Regions from separate parts of the Homo sapiens genome. Here region 2 is linked to region 1. Evidence: promoter capture Hi-C in human tissues and cell types (Jung and others, 2019). All regions are on one chromosome and are shown on one strand. Each heading gives the region's core, a stretch centred on a gene start or on the middle of the fragment in contact. The rest is flanking DNA. Distances are from core to core; before and after follow the strand shown.

What was found. Contacts are between HindIII fragments. The study calls those that stand out against the background at their distance.
Region 2: a contact is called between a fragment that was not itself captured here and the fragment with the promoter of ZSWIM6 in region 1, in 1 of the 25 tissues and cell types used here (lymphoblastoid cells).

What each region holds. Positions count from the first base shown.
Region 1 is chr5:61,327,909-61,333,653 of GRCh38, forward strand. ZSWIM6 (zinc finger SWIM-type containing 6) reads left to right here and starts at 4,350. Exons shown (of 14, transcript NM_020928.2): 1 at 4,350-5,040. The coding sequence starts at 4,365. It overlaps LOC105378994 (a long non-coding RNA gene), which reads right to left and starts at 4,308. Exons shown (of 2, transcript XR_007058781.1): 1 at 4,232-4,308. RefSeq lists an enhancer at 2,440-3,010 and silencers at 2,815-3,394, 3,425-3,494, 3,705-4,104, 4,215-4,354, 5,135-5,244 and 1 more. The HindIII fragment of the contact is 12,801 bases long and covers 1-5,745 here.
Region 2 is chr5:60,531,156-60,537,303 of GRCh38, forward strand. PART1 (prostate androgen-regulated transcript 1) reads left to right here. Exons shown (of 4, transcript NR_024617.1): 3 at 2,777-2,864. Among named protein-coding and RNA genes, the nearest start is that of PART1, 47 kb to the left of the region's middle. The HindIII fragment of the contact is 5,395 bases long and covers 1-4,021 here.

The sequences.
Region 1 (5,745 bases), core at 3,100-5,599:
AGCCGCTACATGTGTTAATTTCCGTTTCCCAGCTCCAAAGTTGTGTGCATTTTGCCCTGGGGCACTCTAGGGGTCTCTCTTTGAAAACCACTGCTCCAGGAATTTGGTAAACCGCTACCGAATTTAATTCAAAAATTTCATTTCTAAGTTAAAGGAGGGTGGAGGAGCCATAAGAGATCTCTGGCTAGGACTCCACTGCCCTTCTCAAATAAATTCCTTTGCCATTCATCTGTCCATCAACCTATCTATGCATCTGACTGCAGTGGGCTGGGTGCTAGATGTGGTGCTCAGGTGGGTGTTGGGTGGGGTTTTCTCACTTCCTTCAGTTCATCAGTTTAGCTACTGGGAGTACTATTTATGAAGTGGGCCAGGGAGCCTAGCTCCTGACCACACTAGTGATGTGGTGTGATGTGATATGAGTCACTGCATATGGGAAGCAGTAGACTTTCTGTACTTTGATTTCCTACCATTGCCTAATGGTAAACACTGGAGGCGGCTCTATCCCTGATTTGGTCCCTGGGGTAGAAGCCTGCTGGAAAAGGGTAATCATAAGTAATTCAGTAATGATTTCTATGAACACCAGGAAAAACACTATAATTACTCAAAAAAATGAGAGATGGCAGAAGCACTAGCCAAAGATGACACACCATCACTCACTTCTCCCTTGGCTCCTGGGTGTAGCTAACCTCTGGGGAGACAGAAACCTTGCAGGACAATGCTGGGCATTCAGGGACTACAGAAATGGACAAGGCATATACCCAACTGTCAGAGAATTTCTAACCAGGGAAGAGAGGAAGAGGAAAAGAGAGAGAGAGAGAGAAAGAGAAAGGACAATGGCTTAGGCAAGTGTAAACATAACTCTGATGCTAGGCAGAATGGTATAAATGTCACAAGAACGATCCAAAGTGTTAAAGGGGCTTGAGGAGAGAGAGATCACACAGCCAGGTGGGTTTTCCCAGAGGAAGTGGCATTTGAGCAAATCCTTGTAGGAAGGGTAGGAATTTGACAAGTTGCAAGGGAAGGGAGAGACATTTCAGGCAGCAGGAACATCTTGAGCAAATGTGTGGGGTGGAGAAGTCCTGTTGGGACATAACAGAATTCCTGCTGGGGAACTGGGAAACGTTCTGTTGGGTTTTAGTGGGAGGCAAGGCTGAAAAGTTGGGTTTGGTCAAGATCAGATCTGAGTTTGGATTTCTCCCAGTAGGCAGCAGAGAGCCATTTACAGGGACTTAAGCAGGAGGGTGACACAATCCGAAATGTACTTTAGGAAGCACAGCAGCTGGGTGGAGGATGATTTGGAGGAGGAAAGGCTATACAGACACACCAGGGAGGAGGCTCCTGCAGAGTGAAGAGGAGGAATAATTGACTGTGAGCAGCCAGAGGGGCTGGGATAGACAATACAAGTCAACTGTGGGAGTTACAGGAAAGAGGCAAAGGCAGAGGAAAAAGCTTGGGGCCCTGGGAACAGGTGGCAACAGTATCAAAAATATAACGAAAGAAGAGAACCTGGATTCTAGGGAAAGGTGGTTCTTTGGGTTTGAGGTGGCCGTGGGCATCCTGGTGGTGATGGAAAAGTGAGCTGGCCACCAGGAAGAAATACGTGAGCCAGAGAGGGAGATGATACTTTAGGAAACGGTTATAGGGTGGGTGGTGGAAACTCTCCAAGTGGTGGATCAAGCAAAATGAAGAGGACCGTGATAGGCTGCAGGGCAGGGTATACATTAAACAGTTTGAAGGAAGATAAACAAAAAAGAGGGAAAAGAGGAGTTGGAGACACTGGAGGGATGGCAGAATTCCGGGAAACTCAGAGAGGGGCCCAGTTCAAGAGGAGGTCAGTAATCAGCGCCAGAGAGTGCAGGGAGGGCCGGCTGGGTCAGGCTGAACTGGTGGCCCCTCATTTGTCTCTGAATTAGAGAGCTTATAATAGATCCCTCCAGCAAACGACGGTGCCTTAAATCCAGTCTCTTGCTCGTTATAATAACGAAAGCTCTAAAAGTTAGGCACCTCCAAAGGTACCTACTTCCCTGTTCAATGTGAATTAATCTCTTCTACTAACAACCCCTATGACCCTGAATGAGTCATTTATCCTGTCTGGGGGCACCAGTTTTGTCATCGCTGACTTTCCAGTTCAGTGATTCTATGTGTTTATGTGTGAAAATGCTTGCTAATCTACACATTATACAAGCCTAAGTCGTATCATGAACTTCTGAAGAGAATAGAGCCCAACTTGTGTTTTACTTTTAAACTTACTGTCTTCTATACCTATGTTTTACACAATTATAAGATTATTCTTATTTTTAAAGAGATCTAGAAATGAAACCCCTGAAAGAGACTTCTCCCTCTACTTGCCCATAAAGATCCTCCAGTTTTCCGCACAGGCTTTTTCCTAGACATGGAGGAAGTGCCCAGAAAAATACTGGACGGATATACAAAAACATAATGCCACAAAAATTTTCCTAACAAGTAAGGCAGCTGCGGAAAGTCGGCCAGCGTCCCGACCCCAGGGACCTGCAGCCTGGGACTTGTGAAGGCCCACTGTGTAGCTCGAGGTTTCCAGGGCCTCGGCCCCGAATGGGCGATTTTCTTTAAAACGCCGAAGCGCGCTATCCCTTTAAATCCAGGCTGCAAGGCAGGCGGGTGGGGAGCAGCCAATAACCTTAAAAGATGCGAAAGTGTCAAAGGAGATACAGTTTATCTCCAACAATGGGAGCGGATCAGCACCACTGTTTACAGTAAAAACAGAAGGTGGGGCTGGGAGGAAGCCTGTCTCCGACGCGGTAATTAAGTCTGCGGCTTGGAAGCAGATTTGACCGAGCTCTGTGGAGCGCGAACAATGTCCGCAGGGCTCCAGGTTCAGAGAGGGACTCGCTTCTCCGCCTTCGCCCGCGTCCAGGCACCAGCGAGCTGCACTCTGCACTCGCTCTCCCTGGTCCACCCCTACACTGCCCGGACCCGAGGGGACTGGCCCTGCGGGCGCCGCCAAGGCGACTGAGAGCGCGGCGCGCGTCCCGAGCGCCTGGACTCCGCGCAGCCGGGCGCCGCGCACCCGGGTGCCGGGGTGGGAGCCGGGCCGCAGACCCAAGTGCGCCCGAAGCCGCCGTCCGCCGCCTGGCACGCCGTCTGCCGCCTGCTGGGCGATGTGTGCGCGAGCCCGTGGGGCTTGCGCGCGCCCTGCGGCGTGTGTACTCACAAAGGTGTGTCTGCTAACCCCACAGCCCGGGCTGCGTTCCACCCCGAGCTGGAGAAACCCCGGCCTGGAGCGGGGCCTTGTCCGCGCGGCCGCGGGGGCGACAAGGGCGGCCGGAGCTCCTCGACTTCTAGCGGGCGGGTCGGTTTCCTGGCCCGAGGGGCTGAGGCAGCGAGGGCGGGACGGTGGCAGCCGGCACCGGACGCGGGTCGCGCGGCTGCTGGGCACGTTCCGAGCGCTCTGCGTGTTTTCGGGCACAGCCCTGCAGCCGAGACAGAACGGACGCGGGGCTCGGGGATGGGCGCACTGCAGCCACGCGGGGTTAGCAGAGCGGGCGCGCTCCTTCCACACCAGGTCTGCAAAAGTGAAGTGGAAAGCCGCCGCCGAACGCAGCCATCCTCCCCCTTCCCCGCTGCAGCTTCGGCGGGTGGTGGGGAGAGCTCCCCTGGACCGGCTGGAGGGGAAGCTGGCAGGCGCTCGGGTTTGGCCGCGCCTCCTCCGCCTTCCTCTCCACCCGCGTCCCCCGGGGTCCATGCCGCATTTCTTTGTTTTGAAAGCGCCTCCTCCGCCCAGAGGCTTTTCCCCCGAAGGGCAGGGGGACGGGGGGGGTGGGGCATCGGCCCGTGGGCCCCGCCCTCCATTTAGCTCAGAACCCTCCCCTTCGCTCACCCCCTCTTCTCCCCTTTCCTCCCCCGCTGCGACCCACGAGGCGCATCCTCACTTCTCGGACTTCAAAGAGAAGCTGAGAACTGGAGGGGGAAGTGGGGTAGGCAGGGGGCGCAGAGACCCACCCACCTCAGGCCCGGCCCGGCGGCCCGCCCCCTCCCACGGGAACCCCGCCTGACCCCGCCCTCCCCCGCGTCACAGCAGCCTGACATTCTCACAACCCACCGGGCACCAAAACGGCCCGCCCCCGCCACCCCCGTGTCCGCCAAGCGCTCTATTTATGTTTCAGCCCAGCGATTTGCATAGGCCCCGCCCCCGGCCCTAGGTTCCCCCTATCAGAGCCCCGCCCCAGCTTCTGCGTCACAGCGGAGGCCCCACCTCTTGTGCCCATACAAGGAGCGGCGGGCCCTAGATGGCATCGTGGCGTCGCGACGGCGTGTGCGTGTCGCGCTTCCTAGTGCCGTTTATAGGGTCCCGGCACTTCCGCTGTCGGGTTAGAAGCGGCGCGGTCATGGCGGAGCGCGGACAGCAGCCTCCTCCCGCGAAACGGCTTTGCTGCCGGCCGGGCGGCGGCGGCGGCGGCGGGGGCAGCAGCGGCGGCGGCGGCGGCGCGGGTGGCGGCTACAGCTCTGCCTGTCGGCCAGGCCCGCGGGCGGGTGGCGCGGCGGCGGCGGCGGCGTGCGGGGGCGGCGCGGCGCTGGGGTTGCTGCCGCCGGGCAAGACCCAGAGCCCCGAGTCGCTGCTGGACATCGCGGCGCGCAGGGTGGCGGAGAAGTGGCCGTTCCAGCGCGTGGAGGAGCGCTTTGAGCGCATCCCGGAGCCGGTGCAGCGCCGCATAGTCTATTGGTCCTTCCCCCGCAGCGAGCGGGAGATCTGCATGTACTCGTCCTTCAACACCGGCGGCGGCGCCGCGGGCGGCCCCGGCGACGACAGCGGTGGCGGCGGCGGCGCGGGCGGCGGCGGCGGCGGCGGCTCCTCGTCTTCCCCGGCCGCAACCTCGGCGGCCGCAACCTCGGCCGCCGCCGCCGCTGCCGCCGCCGCCGCCGCCGCCGCCGCCGCCGCGGGGGCCGGGGCCCCGTCGGTGGGGGCTGCCGGGGCGGCGGACGGCGGCGACGAGACGCGGCTGCCTTTCCGCCGGGGCATCGCGCTGTTGGAAAGCGGCTGCGTAGACAACGTCCTGCAAGTCGGTGAGTCACGGGGCAGCCGCGAGCCGTCTGTCCGTCCGTCAGTCCCTGGGTGGGGGGGGGGTGCCCGCCTTTCTCCTGCGGACAGCCCCTAGTTCCGCGCGCGCCCGCACCCCTGCGGGTGTCCTCACTGGCCCGGACGGTCCTCCTGAGCGGAGCGCCCATTTCCTCCCTCCCTTCCCTGCCCCCCGTCGCCCCGGACGGGCCAGCGCGAGTGGGAAATGAATCAGCAGGACGCGCCCCTCCGTGGGCTCCGCGCCCCCGGCCCGCGCTCCCCTACCCGCCCTCCTCCGGGGAGCACATCCTGGAGGGCTGTTCGCCGGTTTCGGGGGTGGATGTGGACAAAGGCGCGGGCGGACGGCCGGCCTCCGGCGAGGGTGTGTGTGGCGGGGCTGTGCGGGGCGGGGGAGGGGGCGCGGGCCGCAGACAATGCCGGCCGCGGCCCGGCCGCTCGGCGCTCCCCCCCTCTCCCACTGCCTGTCGCTCGCTCCTTTTTCTTTCTGGCCCCCGCCCCACGCGATTTGAGGGGAGGGGAATACACTTAAAGCCGCTCGGCCGCCGCTCCTCCCAGGGCTCCGACGGGCGAGCGGCCGCGGCGCTCCCGGGTCGCTGTGGCGTCTGGCCCGGGCGAGCTCCACTGGCCGCCCGGGGTTTAAATGTCGTTTTCTTTGCGCCTCCTCAGTCTCCAAGCGGCGCAGAGGAGAGGTG
Region 2 (6,148 bases), core at 74-2,573, 800 kb before region 1:
TCTTTCACTCTTTGCAATAAATCTTGTTGTTGCTCACTCTTTGGGTCCACACTGCCTTTATGAGCTGTAACACTCACTATGAAGGTCTGCAGCTTCACCCCTGAAGCTAGCAAAACCGCGAACCCGCCGGGAGGAACGAACAACTCCCGACATGTGGCCTTAAGAGCTGTAACACTCACTGCGAAGGTTTGCAGCTTCATTCCTGAGCCAGCGAGACCGTGAACCCACCAGAAGAAAGAAACTCCGAACACATCCAAACATCAGAAGGAACAAACTCCAGACACGCTGGCTTTAAGAACTGTAACATTCACTGAGAGGGTCTGCGGCTTCATTCTTGAAATCAGTAAGACCAAGAACCCACCAACTCAGGACACAGTGTGATTTTCACAGCCGGAAATTGACTTGGAAATCCTTAAGTTTTTTTTAATGCAGCTTTTGGATAGCCATAAAAATCTTATACCTTCCTTTAATGTTATTTAAATTTTTGAAATAAGTTCAGTAACAAGAAAACAAGATGGACACAACAGTAACTTTAAAACGATTTTCTTTAGATCTTAAAAGATACGTATTTCAGCCAGGCATGGTGGCTCACGCCTGTAATCCCAGCACTTTGGGAGGCTGAGGCGGGCAGATCACGAGGTCAGGAGATTGAGACCATCCTGGCTAACACGGTGAAACCCCGCCTCTAGTAAAAATACAAAAAAAAAAAAAAAAATTAGCCCGGAGTGGGGGCAGGCGCCTGTAGTCCTGGCTACTCGGGAGGCTGAGGCAGGAGAATAGCATGAACCCAGGAGGCGGAGCTTGCAATAAGCCGAGATTGTGCCATTGCACTCCAGCCTGGGTGACAGTGTGAGACTCCATCTCAAAAAAAAAAAGATATGTATTTCTTCCTTTGATTATGTGGCTACAATGTGAGCACTGAATCTGCTTGCTGACGGCCAGCTTTTCACTCCTAAGGAAATGGAGAAAACAGAGCCAGAGGTAGGCTACTCTCCATGTCAAGCTTATCTGCTGCTTTATTTTCAAATACCTTAAGACCCTTTCACCCTGACTCTGATACACCCCATAGCAGGCCAGGACCCTTCTTATTCCAAAACCATAGTTTTACAGACAAAGGGACAGTGAGACTCCAGTGACTTACTCTTAGCCACACAGCTAGTTGGCAAAGAAAGAAAACAGAAATCGTGCTGATGGAGAGGAAGATTCAGAGGAGGAGGAGAAACAGGATAATGCAGGCTTATAATAATTTGCTGTGGGAAATCAAATGATGTGGGCAGCAACAAAGGGACTTAAGCAAAAAGATTTTTTAGGAAAAGAGACATAAGCAAAAAAGGGACTTCAGCAAAAAGAATTTTTAGGAAAAGCATTCTTGCTGCTGTATGCAGAGTGCAATAAATAACCCATGTCATTAACCCATGTCCTTATCTCTGCACCTTTTGCTACCAGAACCTAAAATAATACCAAGAAAATATATTTAAAGGTAAAATCTGGTGGTGGTTTGTTTTCATTTGAGTAAATTTTCTATGTATAATCAGTGATTAACCCATTTTAGGAATGAAGTAGAAATGAAGGGTTTTCTCCCCAGTGGTTATAACAAACTTGAAGGCTCTATGGCTAAAAGTACAAATTCCCTTTTGTTGCTTCTTTGTTGTTGTTGTTGTTTCTGAGATAGGGTCTTTGTGTTGTCCAGGTTGGAGTACAGTGGTGCCATCACGGATCACTGTAGCCTCAATCTCCCAGCCTCAATCAATCCCCTCACCTGAGCCTCCCGAGTAGCTGGCATGCAGGAATGCATCACCACACCTGGCTAATTTTTGTATTTTTAGTGGAGACGGGGTTTCGCCATGTTGCCCAGGCTGATCTTGAATTCCTGGGCTCAAGTGATCCACCCACCTTGGCCTCCCAAAGTGCTGGGATTACAGGTGTAACTGCACCCGCCTATAGTTTTTTCAAGGGCAAAAAATTACAAGTTGAGCACTCATGAGCTTAGAGTCTTTTGAATGTTCTCCAAATCAAAAGTCAAGTTTTAGTCCTACTTCCCCTAAGCAGAGAGTTCTTCCCAGCTTAGAGTTTCATTTCAAAGAACTGATGGCAAAGATTTTTCAGGTACAGTTCTCATATTTGAAAGCTTCATTCCTTCCCAGCACAACTGTGTGCATATTGACCTAATACAGACCTGTGTTTTTGGTAGATTCTCAGAAAATGTTTGATGGTGACCTTGGCCTTTGGGACTTGGCCACCACCCTTAGCTTTCATAGCCTTTTCCCAGAGGGAACCAGATGAAAAAGGAACTTCAAGCCTGGAATTATTCTGTTTAGCCACTTCTGTTGCTTACCAAAGGCTTTGCCAATGATAATACTGATAAAGGGCAACATAAACACATCTATGTGTGAGTTGCCATCTGAAACTGAAGTTAAACACACTTGGTGCTGACCAATAAACTGTAGTGCTTTTTCAGAAGAAAAGAGAATATTCCTTTTCTCTTGGAGCCATGGAAAACAGGCAATAGTATGAGGTAGGGGAAACTCCAGAGTTTCTATATAGGAAGGGACTGAAGCAGGAATCTACCTAGAAGAGAAGCCTAGGGGACTTGACTTTTTTTTTTCTTGATATGATTTGAATGCCCCCTTCAAAACTCATGTGGAAATTTAATTGCTAATGTAATGGTATTGGGAGGTGGGCCCTTTAAGAGGTGATTAGATCACGAGGGCAGAGCCCCATGAGTGGGTTCCTGATAAAAGGATAAGTTCAGCCTCCATTTGCTCTCTGTTTCTAGTGTTCACTTCCACCTTCCACCCTTTCACTATGAAGGACCCTCACCAGATGGTGGCACCATGCTCTCGGACTTCCCAGCCTCCAGAACTGTAAGCCAAATAAACTTCTTTCTGTATAAATTGCCGTTTGTGGTATTCTGTTATAGCAACAGAAAACAGACTAAGACAATACCTAACACGATGTTTTGATATACATATTGTCAAAAGGCAAAACTATAACAAATTTAGTTTTAAGATCTAATTGGCTTCTATTTGTGATTCTAGAATTCAGCAGTATTGTATTCTATAAATAGAATGAATGCTCCACTGGGCATGGCAGAACAATTGGTTTTTGTAAAGTGGGAACAAGGAAACAGAATAATAGAAAAAGGCAGATCGGTTAACATCAGATTACTTCAGGTTACTTTTCTTATAAGGGTTAAAACTGTGGAGATTTCCTTATTATACTGACTTAGGCTGACTGGGCCCTTTCTAATTGGTTTCTGTGAATCTTCTGTTTTCAAAAATATCTGGTCTGTTTGGAAATTTACCTGCTTTCTTAAAATTTCAGTTTAATCATGTGGCACTTAGCGTGTGGGACTCCATTTTGCTTTGGTTTGTTGGGATCTAGAATGAGAGCTTCCATAAATTTTATTTAACAATATGCATAATGACATGATTACCACATCAAGCAAATTAGCATATCTATCATGTTACACAGTTACCTTTTCTGTGTGCGTGTGTGTGTGTGTAGTAGAATTACCTAAAATCCACTCTGTTAGCAAATTCCCTTATGAAATAAAATATTATTAACTACAGTCTTCATGCTATACATTAGATCTCTAGGCTTATTTATTCTACATAAATGAAACTTTATACCCTTTGACCTCCATCTCCCCACTCCCCCACTTTTCCTACCCCTGGTAACCACCTTTTTACTCTGTTTCTACATCTTTGAATTTTGTTTCTTTTTTTTTTTAATTTCGCATATAAGTGAGACCATGTAGTATTTTTCTTTCTGTGTCTGGCTTATTTCACATATTATAATTTTCCTCTTGGTCCATTCATGTTGACACAAATGGCAGGATGTCCTTTTTTAAGACTGAATAATATTCCATTGTGTATGTGTGTACACACACACACACACACACACACACACACACAATTTCTTTATCCATTCATCTATTGACAGCCAAAGGTTGTTTCCATATCTTGGCTATTGTGAATAATGCTTTGAAACATGGGGGCACAGATATCTCTATGAGGTGATTTCATTTTCTTTGGATCTACACTAAGAAACAGGATTGCTGGCTCATATAAGAATTTTATTTTTAATTTTTTGTAGAACCTCCATATTATTTTCCACAATGGCCTCTGTATTCCCACCAACAGTATACAAGGTTCCCTTTTATGCATATTCTGGCTAACACTTGTTATCTCTTGTGTTTTTTATAATAGTCATTCTCACAGGTGTGAGGTAATACTGTGGTTTTGATTTGCATCTGCCTGATTAGTGATATTGAGCACCTTTTTATATACTTGCTGTAGGAGGCTTTTCTTGCAGCTGTGTTTGCAAACACACTGCTTTTACAGAGATTGCATATGTATTGGGAAGCTCCTGGGATCTTTTCAGAAGAACAGCAACAGCTTCAGCTGAATGGAGCTGATGAAGATGGAGGTGGTTAAGCCCCTAAATCCAAGCCATCCCCTGGTCTCTCTACTGAAGACTAAATGAATAAATGAAAGGCCAGAGGGGAAAAAATCTTGAAAAATGAGGAAAATCAAATGTTTGTGAGTCTGATCTGGTATAAATCTCCGAAATCTTACAGTGTTTAGACCCTGGGAGCTTCCAAACACAACCATGTGAATAGTTCAGATGCCTTGCTTGGAGTGATCCAAGCAAATCATTCCATATCCATCCTATGTATTATCTACTTTGTTAATATTCTGTGCTGGGTTTGAAAAAAATAATAAAATAAATTGCCTTTTTAAAGAAATAATACCACAAATAGTGCAAAATTCAAAGGTACACAAAAAATATAGTGAAACATAACACTACTTCCTACCCCATCACCCAACAACTGTTACATTTCTTGAATATACTTCCAAAGCTGTTCTATGTATATGCAAGTATATACGTGCATGTATTTTTATGTAAAATTTACATATGACATACATAGGAAAGTGGTTTTTCAAGCTATTTTTTACTGTGATCTGCAAAAAAAAATGAATTTTCTCCTCTGTTCCATTGATGTAGCTATCTGTGCACCACTACCATAGTGCTGTAACGATTATAACTCTATAATATGTGTTCATCAGAGCATTCATGCTTCTCATTACTATTCTGATTCAAGATGTTTCCTAGCTATTCTTGCTTTTTTCATTTTTCCATATAATCTGTAGAATTAGCTTCTCTGGGCATACAGTCCTTTCTTGCATATCTTAGCACCAATTGTTGTTTATGTGTGTAAAGACTATTCTAGCCACACTACTCAATTCTCTTATTTTTTTTTTCTTTTACTATTGTTGGCAGTGATCTTTCAGTTAATTTTCTTGGGTTTTCAAGGCACAGAGTTACATTATTTGCAAATATGATTATCTTACCTCCTCCTTTCCAACTTGTACATACCACTCTTCTTTATCTTATCTAAAAGTTTGTTAGCACCTCAAGACCAATGTTCAATAATGTTGTGGTAATGGCATCTTTGTCCCAATTTAATGTGAGTGTATGGTTTGCTAGTTAAACATGACCTGGCTTTTGAGGTAAGACAAATATATTTTACTAATGTGATAAATTTAGTTCTATTTGATGAGGTGTTTTTTCATAATCAATAATGGATTTTAATTTTATAGCAAACATTTTCAGCAACCATGAGTGCGGGCATATGGTTTTACTGTTTTTTACATATACTAGGATGTTAAACAATATCAATAGATTTCCTAATATTAAACTATCCTTCCTTTCCTGAAAGGAAGGACATTCTACTGTCCTCCTGGAATATGTTTGCTAGTATTCTATTGAAGATGTTTGTATTGATAGTCACAAGAGACATTAGACTTTCTTTTTATTATTTTTGTTGTTCTGTGGCATACTGACACCAGTGTAACCTCCACTTTATAAAAAGTAACTAGAGTCTTTTCTTCTAGAAGAATTTTAAAAGCTTTAGAGTGATTGAGTCATTAAGGTTATGAAGAGCTCACCTGTAAAAATATCTGTGCCTGGTAGTTTGGAAGACGGATAGCCTGACTTTCCTGTTTTTTCTATTGTAATTGGTCTCTTTAGATTTTCGAACTCTTCTGGGGCCAGCCTTAGAACTTTATCGTTTCTAGAAATTACATATTTTATCCAGGTTTTTACATTTATTTGCTTATGGTACATATAAGTCCTATAATCT